3 separate regions of the Homo sapiens genome follow, and all the other regions are linked to region 1. Evidence: promoter capture Hi-C in human tissues and cell types (Jung and others, 2019). All regions are on one chromosome and are shown on one strand. The core of a region is centred on a gene start or on the middle of the fragment in contact, and the rest is flanking DNA. Distances in the headings are between cores, read along the strand shown.

Region 1 (5,167 bases), core at 1,487-3,986:
CAGTCTTGCCACCAGAGCACACATTAACAAAGGAGACAGGGTTTTTTTAAACTTGAAGTGTCCATCCTTCTGCTGTGTCCAGCTTCCATTGGCTGGAACGGGACCTCACCTTCCTGTACTTCACTGGATTGGCTAGCAACTTAGAACTTCCCAAAAGAGGCAATGGCAGAGGAGAACAAAGGAAGAGAGGAAGTAACTTGTGGACTGTTGAGAGAGGCAAAAACACTTCTAAATAGGGAAAGGAATAGGCCATGACCTAATAGTTGCTTGGACCAGTTCAGGCATGCCAGGGCAAATATCTAGGCTAAAATGTGGGAGCTAAAAACAGAGTCTATTGATTTCTTTATTACGGCTGGCAGAATTTAACAATATTACCACAGGTCTTTGAGAAAATTTGGCTTCTAAGAGGGATTACTATTTATTTCAATCAGACTGGGAGGAAAGTCCCTTTGAAGAGGAACCTGTATTTATTTCATTTTCTACAAGTCCAAGAGTTTGAGACCAGCCTGGGCAAAGTAGCAAGACCCTGTCTCTCTCTCTCTCTCTCTCTCTATATATATATATATAAACATATATGTATAAATACATATAAATATATAAATATATAAAAAATATATAAATATACATGTTCAAAATGCTTGTTCCCTGGTGCCATAAAGAAATTAGCACTTGAACATAAATTTAATTTACTCAGCAAGGCCATTTTTACTTCCTGCAGAAACGGTATACTCACCAGCAGTTTTGCCACGAGAGTACACCAAACAAAGGAGATAGGGTCATTTATAACCTGATGCTTCCAACCTACTGCTGTGTCCAGTTTCCACTGGCTGGAATGGGACCTCACGTTCTGGCTAGCAACTTATAACTTTTTAAAAGAGGCAAGGGTAGAGGAGAACAAAGGAAGGAGGAAGTAACTTGTGGAATGCTGAGAAGGGTCAAAACATCTTCAAATAAGGAAAAAGAACAGGCTATGCCCTAATGCTTGCCTGGACCAGTACAAGCATGCCAGGGCAAATATGTAGACTAAACTGTGGGAGCTAAGAATATAAAGTACATTGATTTCTTTATCACGGCTCACAGATACTTGAGAATGTTAGCACAGGTCTTTGAATAAATTTTGCTTCTAAGAGAAGTTACTATTTATTCCTAATTAAATGTGAAGGAACGTCTTTGAAGAGGAACCTCTGCTTTACTTTTTAGATATAAATATAAAGCTTGTTTGTATGCCTCTCCTCATGTTCCTAGAGCCTTTCCATGATTCTTCCATATTGATAAAGCTGCCAATGAATGGCATGGTCTATCCCTTCCATTCAGTCAGAGTTTCTGTAGGCCTTTTTTTCTTCATTCTTTATTTTTTAGAACCTGCTGATTCCATTGGGTTTTCTTTTTCTTTCTTGCTTGCTTGCTTGCTTGCGACAGATCTCACTGGATCAGACCAGGCTGGAGTGCAGTGGTGTGATCTCAGCTCACCGCAACCTCCACCTCCCAGGTTCAAGCAATTCTCCTGCCTCAGCCTCTGGAGTAGCTGGGATTACAGGCGCCTGCCACCACGCCCAGCTAATTTTTGTATTTTTAGTAGAGAACGATTTCACCAGGTTGGCCAGGCTGATCTCGAACTCCTGGCCTAAAATATCTGCCAGGCCAAGATGGTAGGATCGTTTAAGGCCAGGAGTTTAAGACAAGCCTGGGCTACACAGCAAAACCCCATCTCTCTATATATATATAAAAAAAATTTAAATTAAAAAATGTTTTGTTTTGTTTTGTTTTTTTGAGACATAGTTTCGCTCTGCCACCCAGACTGGAGTGCAGTGGTGCGATCTTCACTCACTGCAAACTCTGCCTCCTGGGTTCAAGCCATTCTTCTGCCTCAGCCTCCTGAGTAGTTGGGACTACAGGCATGTGCCACTGCGCCCAACTAATTTTTGCATTTTTAATACAGACATGGTTTCATCATATTGACCCAGCTGGTCTCAAAGTCCTGACCTCGTGATCCATCCACCTGGTCCTCCCAAAGAGCTGGGATTACAGGCATGAGCCACTGCCCCAGCCAAAAATATGTATTTCTGTTGTTATTTTTCTGATCTTACCACATGGGCCAGGAACACATTTCCTACGTTGTAAAATAGCACTGATACCAGACATTCTCCCCAAGATTATTCAGAAATGTAACATACTCCCAATAAAAATACCAAAAGTTTTTTTCTGGAGTTAAGTACATTGATACTGAAGTTTATGTGGAGGAACAAACATCTGATAATAACCAAGAAAACAAAAACAAAAGCAATGATGAGCAGCAGATATTAAAACATACTATTGACAGTTTTCATGCAAGGCAAAGAATTACATTATTTTAAAATAAAAATAAAGTCCGGGCACAGTGGCTCACGCCTGTAATCCCAGCAATTTGGGAGGCCGAGGCAGGCAAATTACCTGAAGTCGGGGGTTTGATACCAGCCTGGCTAACATGGTGAAACCCTGTCTCTACTAGAAGTACAAAAATTAGCAAGCGTGGTGGCACATGCTTGTAATCCCAGCTACTTGGGAGGCTGAGGCAGGAGAGTTGCTTGAGCCTGGGAGATGAAGGTTGCAGTGAGCCGAGATTGTGCCACTGAATTGCAGCCTGGCTGACAGAGTGAGACTCTGTCTAAAAAATTAATTAATTAATTAATTTAAAAAACATACTATAAAGCCTCTATAATTAAAACTATGTGGTACTAGCACGTGAAACAGAAACTAATAAAATATCAAAAAATAGACCCATGAACATGTAGAAATTTGGTTCATAAATGTATTTTGCCAGATGCGGTGGCTCATGCCTGTATCCTAGCAATTTGGGAGACTGAGGCAGGAGGATCACTTGAGGTCAGGAGTTCAAAACCAGCCTGCCCAACATGGTGAAACCCCATCTCTATTAAAAATACAAAAACATAGCCGGGTTCGGTGGCTCATGCCTGTAATCCCAGAACTTTGGGAAGCCGAGGCAGCCGGATCATGAGGTCAGGAGTTCGAGACTAGTCTGACCAACATGGTGAAATCCCATCTCTACTAAAAATACAAAAATTAGCTGGGTGTGGTGATGCATGCCTGTAATCTCAGCTACTCAGGAGGCTGAGGCAGGAGAATTGCTTGAACCCAGAAGGCGGAGGTTGCAGTAAGCTGAGATCGCACCACTGCACTCCAGCCTGGGCAACAGAGTGAGACTCTGTCTCAAAAAAGAAAAAAAATTTAGCCAAGCATGGCCGAGCATGCTGGCTCATGCCTGTAATCCCAGCACTTTGGGAGGCTGAGGCAGGCAGATCACGACGTCACGAGATCGAGACCATCCTGGCCAACTTGGTGAAACCCCGTCTCTACTAAAAATAGAAAAATTAGCTGGCATGGTGGCGGGTGCCTGTAATCCCAGCTACTCAGGAGGCCGAAGTAGGAGAATCGCTTGAACCCAGGAGGCGGAGGTTGCAGTGAGCCAAGATCGCTCCCCTGCACTCCAGCCTGGCGATAGAGCGAGACTCCGTCTAAAAAAAAAAAAAAAAAAATTAGCCAAGCGTTGTGGTGGGCGCCTGTAAGCCCAGCTACTCGGGTGGCTGAGGCAAGAGAATTGCTCAAACCTGGGAGGCAGAGGTTGCAGTGAGCCGAGATCACGCCATTTCACTCCAGCCTGGCGACACAGCGAGACTCTGTCTCAAAAAAAAAAAAAAAAAAAAAAAAAAAAGCCGGGTGCATTGGCTGATGCCTATAATTCCAGCACTTTTGGAGGCAGAGGCGGGTGGATCACCTGAGGTCACGAGTTAGAGACCATCCTGACCAACATGAAGAAACCCCGTCTCTGCTAAAAATACAAAATTAGCTGGGCATGGTGGCACATGCTTATAATCCCAGGTACTCAGGAAGCTGAGGCAGGAGAACCGCTTGAACCCAGGAGGCGGAGGTTGGGGTGAGTGGAGATCGTGCCATTGCATTCCAGCCAGGGCAACAAGAGAGAAACACCGTCTAAAAAAAAAAAGTGGCATTTCAGATAAATGGGGCAAAAAATGCCATTTGTAACAAATGGAAGGTCTAAGATAGCTGGTTAGCCATCTGAGAAAAGATGAAATTAAATCCATACTTCACAGCATATACAAGAATAAACTCCAAGTGGACTAGGGATCTAAGTGTAAAAAATAAAACCACACACGTATTTAGGGTGTTTAAGTGATTTCTTGGCTGAGTAAGGAAAAAGATGTTACCACAAGGCGGCAGTAGCACACAAGCTTCATTTGGGATGTGCTTTGACAGGTTAGCAGTGGGGGAGGTAGCAAACAGCAAGAGAATATCCACAGGCTTCTACCTGTGGGTCGCTGCTCAGAAAGGGTGGAAAGGAAGAAAGACTCTCAGAGGAGAAGGGGAATCAAAGAGGGGGCTTATAAATAACTAAATGATGATATTCACCAGACTGGCAGCATATCTTCCAGTTAAAAAGCTCTGAAGGATAAGTCTGGCCAATATGGTGAAACTCCGTCTCTACTAAAAATACAAAAATTAGCAGGTATGGTGCCAGGTGCCTATAATCCCAGCTACTTGGGAGGCTGAGGCAGGAGAATCGCTTGAACCCAGGAGATGGAGGCTGCAGTGAGCTGAGATTGTGCCCCTGTACTCCAGCCTGGGTGGCAGAGCAAGACCCTGCATCAGAAAAAAAAAAAAAAAAAAGCTCTGAAGGACCGCAGGGGTATGGGGTTTTCATAGCCCTGGAGTTATCTTATCTATGGCTGTCAGATATTGGATATAATTTCAGAGAATACAAAGCAGGCGCACTCGAAATGGCTAAAAATAGGCTTGTTCAGGCTATGTTTCAAACAATCCAGTGTGTTAAAATTGCAGTTTGGCAGGGGTAGGCTATTGTGAATACTAGTGAGACAAACATTGGTGTACAAATATCTCTGAGTCCCTGCTCTGAACAGTTTTGGATATGCCAAAGTGGAATATCTGGATCACATGGTAATTCTGTTTAATCGTTCTTTTTTTTTCTTTTTTTTGAGACAGGGTCTCACTCTATTGTCTAGGCTCGAATGCAGTGACGTGATCATGGATCACTGCAGTCCTCAACTTACTGGGCTCAGGTAATCCTCCCACCTCAACCTCCCAGGTAGCAGAGATTACAGGTGCATGCCACCACCATCCTTGGCTGAATTAA
Region 2 (5,167 bases), core at 2,308-4,807, 450 kb before region 1:
TGCAGTGAGCCGAGATTGTGCCACTGCACACCAGCCTGGATGACAGAGTGAGACTCCATCTCAAAAATATATATATTTTTATATATTTTTATTATATATATTTTATTTTTATATATATTTATTATTATATATATACATATATATATATATATAGCAAGAATTAGATGCCATTTTAATAGACTTTATTTTTTTAGAACGTCCACCAATGCTGCTTTGATTCAAGTCCACATGATCTGTCATCTGGGCTGTAGGTAGCCTGGCACCCTTCCTGCCCATTCTGCAGGGGAACATCATTGTACACATTTTTTTTTTAACACCCGGTGCTCTTACTTCCCTCCAGAAGGAAACCTAAACTCCAGTGTCCTCCATGATCTGACTCCTGTTTTTTGCTCCAACTCCATCTCTTGTTCCATCACCCTCCTGTCTTCTAATCCATCCTTTGTATTAAGAAGCAAATTACCTAAACCTTTTAAATAAGGCAAAAGGATGACCGCATTACTGTTCAGTATCATGCTGAAGCATTGTCTGACAGGCCTAGCTAGTTCTTTCCTTCTCAAGGCAATGTTCGTTTGTTTGCTTGAGACCTGGACTCTGTGAAGTTATTGCCAACCCACAGGGAATTAATCAATTGCAAATGATTTTTGTCCAGTCGAGTTGCAAATTACTTCAATTGCTTCTGTTCAGTTAAAAAGATTACCCCTAAATGGCCAGGCGTCATGGCTCATGCCTGTAATCCCAGCACTTTGGGAGGCCAAGGTGGGTGGATCATTTGAGGCCAGGAGTTTGAGACTAGCCTGGCCAATACGGTGAAACCCCATCTCTACTAAAAATACAAAAATTATCTGGGTGTGGTGGCACATATGCCTGTAATCACAGCTACTACGCCTCAGGAGGCTGAGGTGGGAGAATCACTTGAACCCGAGAGGCAGAGGTTACAGTGAGCTGAGATTGCGCCGCTCACTCCAGCCTGGGTGACAGAGTGAGACTGCACCAAAACAAACAAATGAAAAAAAATGAAATAATGTGTTAATAATTTTATATTAAAAATTATATTTCAGAAAAAATATTTACCCCTTTTTTTTTTAGACGGGGTTCGCTTTTGTTACTCAGGCTGGAGTGCAATGGTGCAATCTCGGCTCACTGCAACCTCCACCTCTTGGGTTCAAGCAATTCTCTCGCCTTAGCTTCCCAAGTAGCTGGGATTACAGGCGCCCACAACCACGCACAGCTAATTTTTTTTTTTTTTTTTTTTTGTATTTTTAGCAGAGACAGGGTTTCACCATGTTGGCCAGGCTGGTCTCGAACTCCTGACCTCAGGTGATCCACCTACCTTGGCCTCCCAAAGTGCTGGGATTACAGGCATGAGCCACCGTACCCGGCCAAGCACATTTTGTTGTATATTTGAAGTACTCGAAATTTATTCCTGCAAACCACACAGATTTTTGTACATTTAATTTTAATTTTAAAAGATCTGTCAGTCATTGACAGATGAATGGATAAACAAAATGTGTGTATATACATATAATATAATGAAATATTTTGTGGCTTTAACAAAGAACATTCTCCTGAGCATGGTGCCTCATGCCTATAATCCCAACACTTTGGGAGGCTGAGGCGGGAGGATCACTCAAGGCCAGGAATATGAGACCAGCCCGGCCAACATGGTGAAACCCCATCTCTACTAAAAATACAAAAATTAGCCGGACATGGTGGCGCACACGTGTAATCCCAGCTACTCGGGAGGCTGAGGCAGGAGAATCGCTTGAACCTCGGAGGTGGAAGTTGCATTCCAGCCTGGGCGACAAGAGTGAGGCTTTGTCTCAAAATAATAATATAAAAATAATAATAATAATAAATAGAAAAACAACAAAAAATAAAAAACAAATTAGCTAATTGGGAGACTGATGTGGGAGGATTGCTTGATCTCAGGTCTTTGGGATTGTAATGAGCTATGATTGTGCCACTGCACTCCAGCCTAGGTGACAGAGTAAGACCCTGACAAAAAAGAAGAAAGAAAAAAAAAGAGAGAGGAGAGAGAGAGAGAAAGAACATTCGGACACATATACAGCATACATGAACCTTGGCAATATTTCACTTAAATGAAATAAGTCAGTCACAAAAAGACAAACAGTGTATACTTCCGTCTATGAAGTAGGTACCACAGTCAGAATTATAGAGACAGAAAGTGGTATGGTGGTTCATTAGGGGCTGGGGAGGGTGAATGAGGGATGAGTGTTACGGGACAGAGTTTCAGCTTGGGGAGATGAGAAGATTCTGAATATGGAGGATAGTGATGGCTGCTGTGAATATACTTAATGCCACTGAATAGTACACTTAAAATGGTTAAGATGGTGAACTGTATGTTATGTATATTTTACCATCATTTTAAAAATTGAAAAAAACTTTTTTCTTATTGTTCAGTTCCTCCCAAACTTGCCATCAATGAAATTTTCCCCATCACTCTACCCAGATCGCTGTTTCTAATGTTTTCCATGCCATTAAATGTGATGGATATTCTTCAGCCTTTATTTTGCTTAGCCTTATAGCATCGTTTTACATGGTTGTTAGAAATAAATCTTGGAGTCATAAAGAAAAATGAGCACTCAAACAAAGGATTTCTCAGCAAAGCAAATTTACTTCTGCGCAGAAGGGTGCTTCTCGTAGGGTTGGCTGCTACAAGAGCACCCTGAACAAAGGAGAGTAGCAACTTTTATTCTTAATGCGACTCTTGACTTTGTGTGTCCTTTCCCCATTGGCTGGGGTCGGACAGCACAATCTAAACTAGACTTGATTGGTTACACATTTAAACTGTCTTAGATAAGGTGGGTGTGTGATGGGAGACAGAGGAGAGGAGGAAGGGGTCTTCTACAGAGGAATAGACAGCTAGTCTATTCTTAAATAAGGAAAGAAATGTGAGCTGGGGCTATGGCATATCTGGGCATGCAGCAAAATCAGAAAGAAGAAAAGGAGAAGAAAGTGTGTGGGGGGGGTACTTGGAATTAGAGAATAAGAAGCTGAGCAGGCTGTTTGAAGAGAAATCTTGCTGTATCTCGCAATGGTTGACTCTCCCTCTCTTGAAACAGGACTTACGACATGTCCACAGCCTGTTTAACGCCCTGCAGCCAACGCGATCACAGGGGATTCACGGAAATAGTTGCATCTCTATTTTCTTCTGTGTTACCTTGAGACCCTTAGGCACTGGGATTACAGAGAGATGGGTCTTTGTAGCTTCTGCGACACATTCCAGAGGGGAAAACCTCTTTATCTCAAAGCCAAACCAATAGTGATGAAAGCTCTTCCAAGAATAAAGAGGCCCCAAGAGGGTGGGAGGTGCAGAGAGAGTCACCTGGCTTCAGAGCTGCCTTCTTGGAAACAGAATTAGAACACATCATACCTTTCTGCCATTTGCTCTTGATCCCAAGGGAGCCGAATGGGTTGGAGAGTAGAACATCACTGGAACAGTGGATTTAATGAGGAAGGATGAGACATCAGCTCCCTGGGGCTTGAGAAACCATAAATACTTCCCTAAAACACCTCACCTGGACAGTTTCCTGACGCCACACTCATGCATCTTAGAGAGGAGAGTTAGGATGACTTCATGACAAGTTCCATCTCCCCGCCTTTCCCTGCTAGATTCTGTCTTCAGCATTCAACAGTCAGGGGAGGAAGACGTCATACCAGCATTTTTTTTTTTCAAGCAATGTCAGTTGAGTGACTCACACTATCCTTGTTAGTACCGTGTGTGAAAAGGATTTAAAAAGTAGTGTGGGGAGGAACAGAGATGGAGGTAACAGGGTTGATAATGTCTCATGATTTTTAAAATGTCTCTAGGATTCCCTTACCTGGTTATAGATGTCTTAAGGCATTGCAACTTTTGGGAGGCTGAGGCAGGCGGATCGCTTGAGGCCAGGAGTCTAAGACAAGCCTGGCCAACTTGGTGAAACCCCATCTCATCTAAAAATACAAAAATTAGCTGGGCATGGTGGCGGATGCCTGTAATCCCAGCTACTCGGGAGCCTGAGTCAGGAGAATGGCTTGAACCCGGGAGACAGAGGTTGCCATGAGCCAAGATCACGCCACTGCACTCCAGCCTGGGTGACAGAGTGAGTGAGACGCTGTCTCAAAAAAAAAAAAAGATTCTATTGCAACTGTTTCTGTCACCTCCACCTCTGATGGCCTTTCATTCTGGAAACTAGTGACTTTCTCAATGTCAGTAGGAACTGGCACTTCCTTGAGTGGATTCCTTTCAGTCTACCTGCTAACACCTTCCTTTTTCTTCTCTAGTATAATATAATAGTTCTCGGCCGGGTGCAGTGGCTCATGCCTATAATCCCAGAACTTTAGGAGGCCGAGGCGGGTGGATCACAAGGTCAAGAGATCGAGACCATCCTGGCCAACATGGTGAAACCCTGTCTCTACTAAAAATACAAAATTAGCCGGGCATGGTGGTGTGTGCCTGTAGTCCCAGCCATTTGGGAGGCTGAGGCAGGGGAATTTCTTGAACCTGGGAGGCAGAGGTTGCAGTGAGCTGAGATTGCACCATTGCACTTCAGCCTGGGCAACAAGAACAAAACTCCGTCTAAAAAAAAAAAAATCAACAAAGCAAAGCAAAACAAAACAAGTATGTATTAAATGTTCACTCTGCACCAGATGTTACATATATTATCATTGCAATTGTGAATGGACTTTTTTTCCTCTTATTTTTTCTCATGGCTGTTTGCAGATACATAAGAAAGCTGATGACACTGATTAGTTGTAATTAATTGTGTTTAAGTTGACTTTTTTTTTTTTTGAGACAGGGTCTTTCTGGGCTCAAGCAAACCTCCTGCCTTGGCCTCCCAAGTAGCTAATTTTTTAAAAATCTATTTTTGTAGAGGCAAGTGTCTCATTTTGTTGTCTAGGCTGGTCTCAAACTCCTGGCCTCAAGAATTTCTCCTGCCTTAGCCTCTCAAAGTGCTGGGATTACAGGCAGGAGTCACAGCACCCAGCCAGGCTGTTACATTTTATTAAATGAATTTTAGCTTATGTTAAAACCATGGTTTCTTTTTCTGCCTTGCTCTATTCACGCATATACTTTGTTATCTGACTTGCCGATATTAAATTTTTTACACTCTTAGGATAAATATTCATTAGTAATGGAGTGTGTTATTTTATCCAAAAGATAACT
Region 3 (5,167 bases), core at 241-2,740, 390 kb after region 1:
GGAGTCCCAGGGGACTTATATTCAGAGTGGATGCCTAAGATTCCATGACCATGTGGATGTGTGAGCGTGGGAATGCGGCATAGTCCAATCAGGGATTAACCATATGGACAGGCACCTTCCTGGACTCCAAAGTAAGAAGTGTGCTGTGGTGTGTGTGTGTGTGTGTGTGTGTGTGTGTGTGTGTGTGTGTGTTGGGAGACTGAGCTCACCTTAGAAAGGGATTTCCAGGAGGACCTAGTCTAGGGTCTCTCAGATCAGGGAAGCCCCATCTCCAACACTTGAGAAGCTACGCCATCCCCTGACTCCCGAAGCGCCCCCCACTCTGAACCCTGAGGGGCGGGACAGGGCGCCCAGCCAGATGCGCGCAGCTGGGCGTGCGTCAGCGCTGACTCACCCATCCGGCGGCCCCCGGGACCCCTTGGGGGCTCCTGAGAAATTCCTCGGGAAAAACACCCAAGGCTCCAGCAGCTGGGGTGGGGAGGGGGGGAGCAACTTCCACTCCTGCCCCGCCCTGCGCCCCGCCCCGTCTCGCCCCTCACCGCGGCCCTCCCCGAAGCCCTGTCCATGGTGCTGATCGCGGCTCTGGGGACCGCGGGGTGGGGGAGGGGGCAACAGGGAGGGAGGGGAGGAGATGGGCGCTCGCCAATTTGGGGCAGAGGAGGAAAAGGGAGAATGAGGTGAAGCCATTTAAAGAGACGCAAAGGAAACTGTGGGTTCCCGAAGAGCACCCCCCAATACTTGTCCCCACCCACCTTCATCCTCATGGGCAATTATTTGCACCCAAAAATCATAACTACACCCCTCATAGCGGCACTCAGAGACACACAATCACACGCATAACCACTCACACGGTTACCCTCGAAAATCAGCACATAGACAAGAGCACAAGTGCATACTCACCTGTCGCAATACACACCGTCCCAGCACTGCCCTGTCACTCACAGTCACACTATCACCATCAACCTCCACACGCAAGCACATACGCAACTTCACTCCAAATGCACACACATGCTACACACACATACACACATGCACACACCTGCACATTGCATGCATTCCCACGCGCTCGCCAGAAAACGCACTCACACATCCCCACCCCCACCCCGAGCTGTCACACCCACAAATCACCCAGAGTCAGATACTCATGCGCCCACATCACACCGGGGCCGCACGCGGCGCCCACGCCCTTCCCCTCCACGCCCCTCCACCCCCCTCCACCCCTCGCTCTTTTAGAGCCTCTCTGAGTCGTGGACCCTGGGTCCCATCTCTTCCCTCCCGGCTCACCGGCCTGCGTCCCCGGCAGAAGCTGCAGCGCGGCCAGGAGCAGGCAGAGACCGGCCCGCGGCTGGCCCAGGTCCCGGCGGTTCCCCATCCCGGCGGGGCCCACGGGCAAGGCGGGGAACCAGTCGGGGCGGCTGCGGGGCGCGGCGACTTCTCGGGCTCGGTGCAGTCACTCGCGGCGGCCGCTCCTCTCAGGGTCCGCGGGAAACTGCCCGAGACCCCGCCCTGGCCTCGCCCTGCGCTCCAGCGCCTGGCCAGGCGGGGCTTTTTGGAGGGGGAGCGCTGACAGCTGGACTGGGAAGTTGGGAAACTTTGTGCTGAGGGCTGATTGGCTGGCTGGGGTGGAGCCCAGCGCCAGGAGCTGGGTTGTTCCTGCCCCACCCCACTGTGGAGGAGAAGGGTCACTCCCACCCAGCCCTAGAGTTCGAGGGTTCCAGTCTTACCCCAAACCTTTTCCGCCTAGCAGATCCCCTCAAAGGAGACCTTAACCTCATTCAAGACTTCAGCCTCCATCCAGGCCCTAGAATTAGGAGGAGGTGCAGCTTTATACCAAATCTTTTTTATTTTCTATTATTTTTACATTTTATTTTGGAGACAGGGTCTTGATCTGTCACCCAAGCTGGAGTGCAGTGGTGCAATCATAGCTCACTGCAGCCTCCAACTCCTGCGTTCAAGCCATCCACCTGCCTCAGCCTCCTGAGAAGCAGGTACCACAGGCACACACTGCCACACCCAGCTAATTTTAAAATATGTATATTTTGTAGAGACCGGGATCTTGCTATGCTGCCCAGGCCGGTCTTGAACTTCTGGTCTCAAGCGATCCTCCGGCCTTGCCCTCCCAAAGCGCTGGAGTTACAGGCATGAGCCACCGCCCCTGGCACCAAGTCCTTTCTGCCTCACTCAGGCCCCCAACTGGGGTCCCAACCTCACCCCGAACTCTCACTCACCTACCTGCTTTATCCTCAGTCCCTCAGCTGCACAATAGGAGGTACCAGCCTCAGCCCCAAAGCCTTTCCTTCAAGTCCCTAACGGGTCCTCATCCCACCTCAAATCTCACCCCAGATCCCAAAATGGGGTCCCCAGCCTTACTCCAAACCTTCATCTGTCCACTCAAATCCCTAAGTCACGTGTCCTGGTCCCAAATTCTCACCACAGATCCCAAAACACAGTTTTCACTTTCCCCAAATTCTTGATTCCTCAAATAAAGGGTCTCATCTCCATCCCTAACCCTCATCTCCCCCCGCCCCAACTCAGGTCTCCAGTGGATGCCCCGGCCTCAATCCCAAATCCCCACCAAATGAGGGAGTCTGAGCTGGGTGCGGTGGCTCATGCCTGTAATCCCAGCATTTTGAGAGGCTGGGGCGGGCAGATCGCTTGAGTCCAGGAGTTAGAGATCAGCTGGCCAACATGGCGAAACCCCATCTCTACTAAAAATACAAAAATTAGCCAGGCATTGTGACTGGCGCCTGTAGTCCCAGCTACTTGGGAGGCTGAGGTGGGAGGATCACTTGAACACGGGAGGTGGAGGTTGCAGTGAGCTGAGGTTGTGCCACTGCGATCCAGCCTGGACAACAGAGCAAGACTCTGTCTGTCTCAAAAAAAAAGGCCGGCGCGTTGGTGGGAGGTGGTGGGAATCTGTCCCTGTCGCAAAGCAACGCACAGCCACTGGGGAGGAAGGGGTGGATTCTTGCCATTCTTGGGATGAGGCAGAGGCCCCCCTCACCGTGCTGGGACCCCCACCTCCAGCATGAAGAGGCCCCCATGAGGTCAAATAGAGCTTTTATGCAATTGGACAAGCGCAGACACGCAGGATGTGAGGGTGTTTCCCCAGGGAGGGGAGGAACCAAGAGGCGTATTCTGAGCCCTGAACTGCTCCCCGAACCCTGCTTCCCCCACCTCCGCCCCAGGGGAAGAGGGAGACGCAAGCAGTGCCTCCCTCCCAGCCTCTGACTCCCCAGACAAAGAGTCTCTGTGTCCCTGAAGAGGAGGGGTTGGGGCCCCATCAAGCCTGAGGGGGAGATGGGGGCCCCCCAGGGTGGGAGGAGGAGAGGGTATCTCTGTAAGCTGTGCCTCCTCCCACCCCAGGGACATCTGAGGCTGAGACTTCTCCAACTAAAAGACTCTCACAAAATTCCTGCCCTGCCCTGCCTTGCTGGAAGTTCTTCCTATAGTCTAACTACATCTTCTGACAGTTCTACACCCCTTCCCTCTATGAAACACTTCTGGATCCACATTCTCTGTCTCCTTCTCTCACTCTCTCCCTTCAATCAGAGATTCTTCACCCAGAATACAGACACTAATTCCCCCCAACTTTCACAGAAACTCTCCCCAGCCCTAAATAATTTATACTCGGCCAGGCTCAGTGGCTCATGCTTGTAATCCCAACACTTTGGGAGGCTGAGGCGGCTGGACCACTTGAGGTCAGGAGTTCAAGACCAGCCTGGCCAACATGGCGAAACCTCATCTCTACTAAAAATACAAAAATTAGCTGGGTGTGGTGGCACACGCCTGTAATCCCAGCTACTCAGGAGGCTGAGGCAGGAGAATCATTTTACCCTGGAAAGCTGAGGTTGTAGTGAGCCGAAATTGCACCACTGCACTCCAGCCTGGGTGACAAGAGCAAGACTCTGTCTCAAAATAATAATAATAATTTACAGTCATAATAAAAATTATAAATTAAGAAAACAGTTACAAATGGCCAAGGCAGGAGGATCACTTGAGGCCAAGAGTTCGAGACCAATCTGGGCAACATAGCAAGATCCCATGTCTAAAAGAAAAAGAAATTTAAAAATTAGCTGGGCATGGTAGTGTGCGCCGGTAGCCCCAGCTACTCTGGAGGCTGAGATAGGAGGATCGCTTGAGGCTGTGGTGAGCTATGATGGTGCCACTGCACTCCAGCCTGAGTGACAGAGCAAGATGCTGTCTCTTAAAAACAAACAAACAAAAACCAGTGATGTCTATAGTAGGTGCGGAGAAGAAATGTTTGGCAGATGAAGAAAATGAGGTGCAGAGAGGATTTAAGAGATTCTCTCTTACTGCCTGTTCAGGGTCAGTCCAGAATTGAGGGTCTCCGGGGGAGGGCAGAGGCTTTGCCCTGCAGGGGATCTGTGGGAGGGGGTTAGGAGGGAGCAGATGAGCCCAGGATGAATGGTCAGAGTCAGGTGCTGCCCGGCGGAGGTCACGAGTCCAGGGAGGGGATCAACATGGCCGCTGCACCCCGGACTGTGTTGATCTCCGGCTGCTCATCAGGAATTGGTCTGGAACTTGCAGTGCAACTGGCCCATGACCCCAAGAAGCGCTACCAGGGTAAGAAGTGCAGGGTGGCACTAGGAGGCAGCCGGGTGGAAACGGCTTCCCCAGCACTGTCTCCCCTACCCATCCCTCCCAGCTGCACTTGTGGGCTTGGGGAGACCCAGGATTCCCTCCAGGAATCATCCCCTCATCCTAGAAATATTTCTTGAGCATCTTCTGGGTGCTCTGAATGCTGGCAACACAACTGGAGATGAAATAGACAAAAATCTCAGCCCTCAGGACGGGTGTCATGTGGGGAGGAGAGGGAGAATGGGTGATAAACAGATAAAAAGAAATTGTTGCTCTATCTGGTGGGAATAAGTGCTGAGACACAAAATAAAGCATGCTGAGAGTGGCAGGGGGTGGGTGGGGGTTATTTTTAGAAGGGTTTCACTAGGGCATTTCCTAGATTGGAATAATCACTACCCTGATGCTCACTCTTCCACGTCTCCCCAGATTATTGCTTTTACTGAGATAAGCTTCTTAAGTGCTCCTGACCTTGGGGGTTGAAGGGATGGCCTTCTAGTTCTAAGAACTTGCCCTTCTGCACCTCTAGAATAAATCCCTGGGACCTGCATCCTAACCAACCAGGAGA

What was found. The method cuts DNA at HindIII sites, captures the fragments that hold promoters and counts their contacts. A contact is called where the count stands out against the background at its distance.
Region 2: the fragment with the promoter of OR7D2 here is called in contact with a fragment that was not itself captured in region 1 in 3 of the 25 tissues and cell types used here (IMR-90 fibroblasts, adrenal gland and lymphoblastoid cells).
Region 3: the fragment with the promoter of COL5A3 here is called in contact with a fragment that was not itself captured in region 1 in 2 of the 25 tissues and cell types used here (lymphoblastoid cells and spleen).

The regions. Positions count from the first base shown.
Region 1 is chr19:9,621,768-9,626,934 of GRCh38, forward strand. It overlaps ZNF561-AS1 (ZNF561 antisense RNA 1), which reads left to right. Exons shown (of 4, transcript NR_122038.1): 2 at 5,017-5,093. Among named protein-coding and RNA genes, the nearest start is that of ZNF561-AS1, 2.9 kb to the left of the region's middle. The HindIII fragment of the contact is 4,441 bases long and covers 517-4,957 here.
Region 2 is chr19:9,175,422-9,180,588 of GRCh38, forward strand. It overlaps OR7D2 (olfactory receptor family 7 subfamily D member 2), which reads left to right and starts at 3,558. Exons shown (of 3, transcript NM_175883.4): 1 at 3,558-3,702. The HindIII fragment of the contact is 33,183 bases long and covers 1-5,167 here.
Region 3 is chr19:10,009,014-10,014,180 of GRCh38, forward strand. COL5A3 (collagen type V alpha 3 chain) reads right to left here and starts at 1,491. Exons shown (of 67, transcript NM_015719.4): 1 at 1,285-1,491. The coding sequence starts at 1,372. RDH8 (retinol dehydrogenase 8) reads left to right here and starts at 4,470. Exons shown (of 6, transcript NM_015725.4): 1 at 4,470-4,587. The coding sequence starts at 4,485. RefSeq lists an enhancer at 5,091-5,167. The HindIII fragment of the contact is 11,359 bases long and covers 1-5,167 here.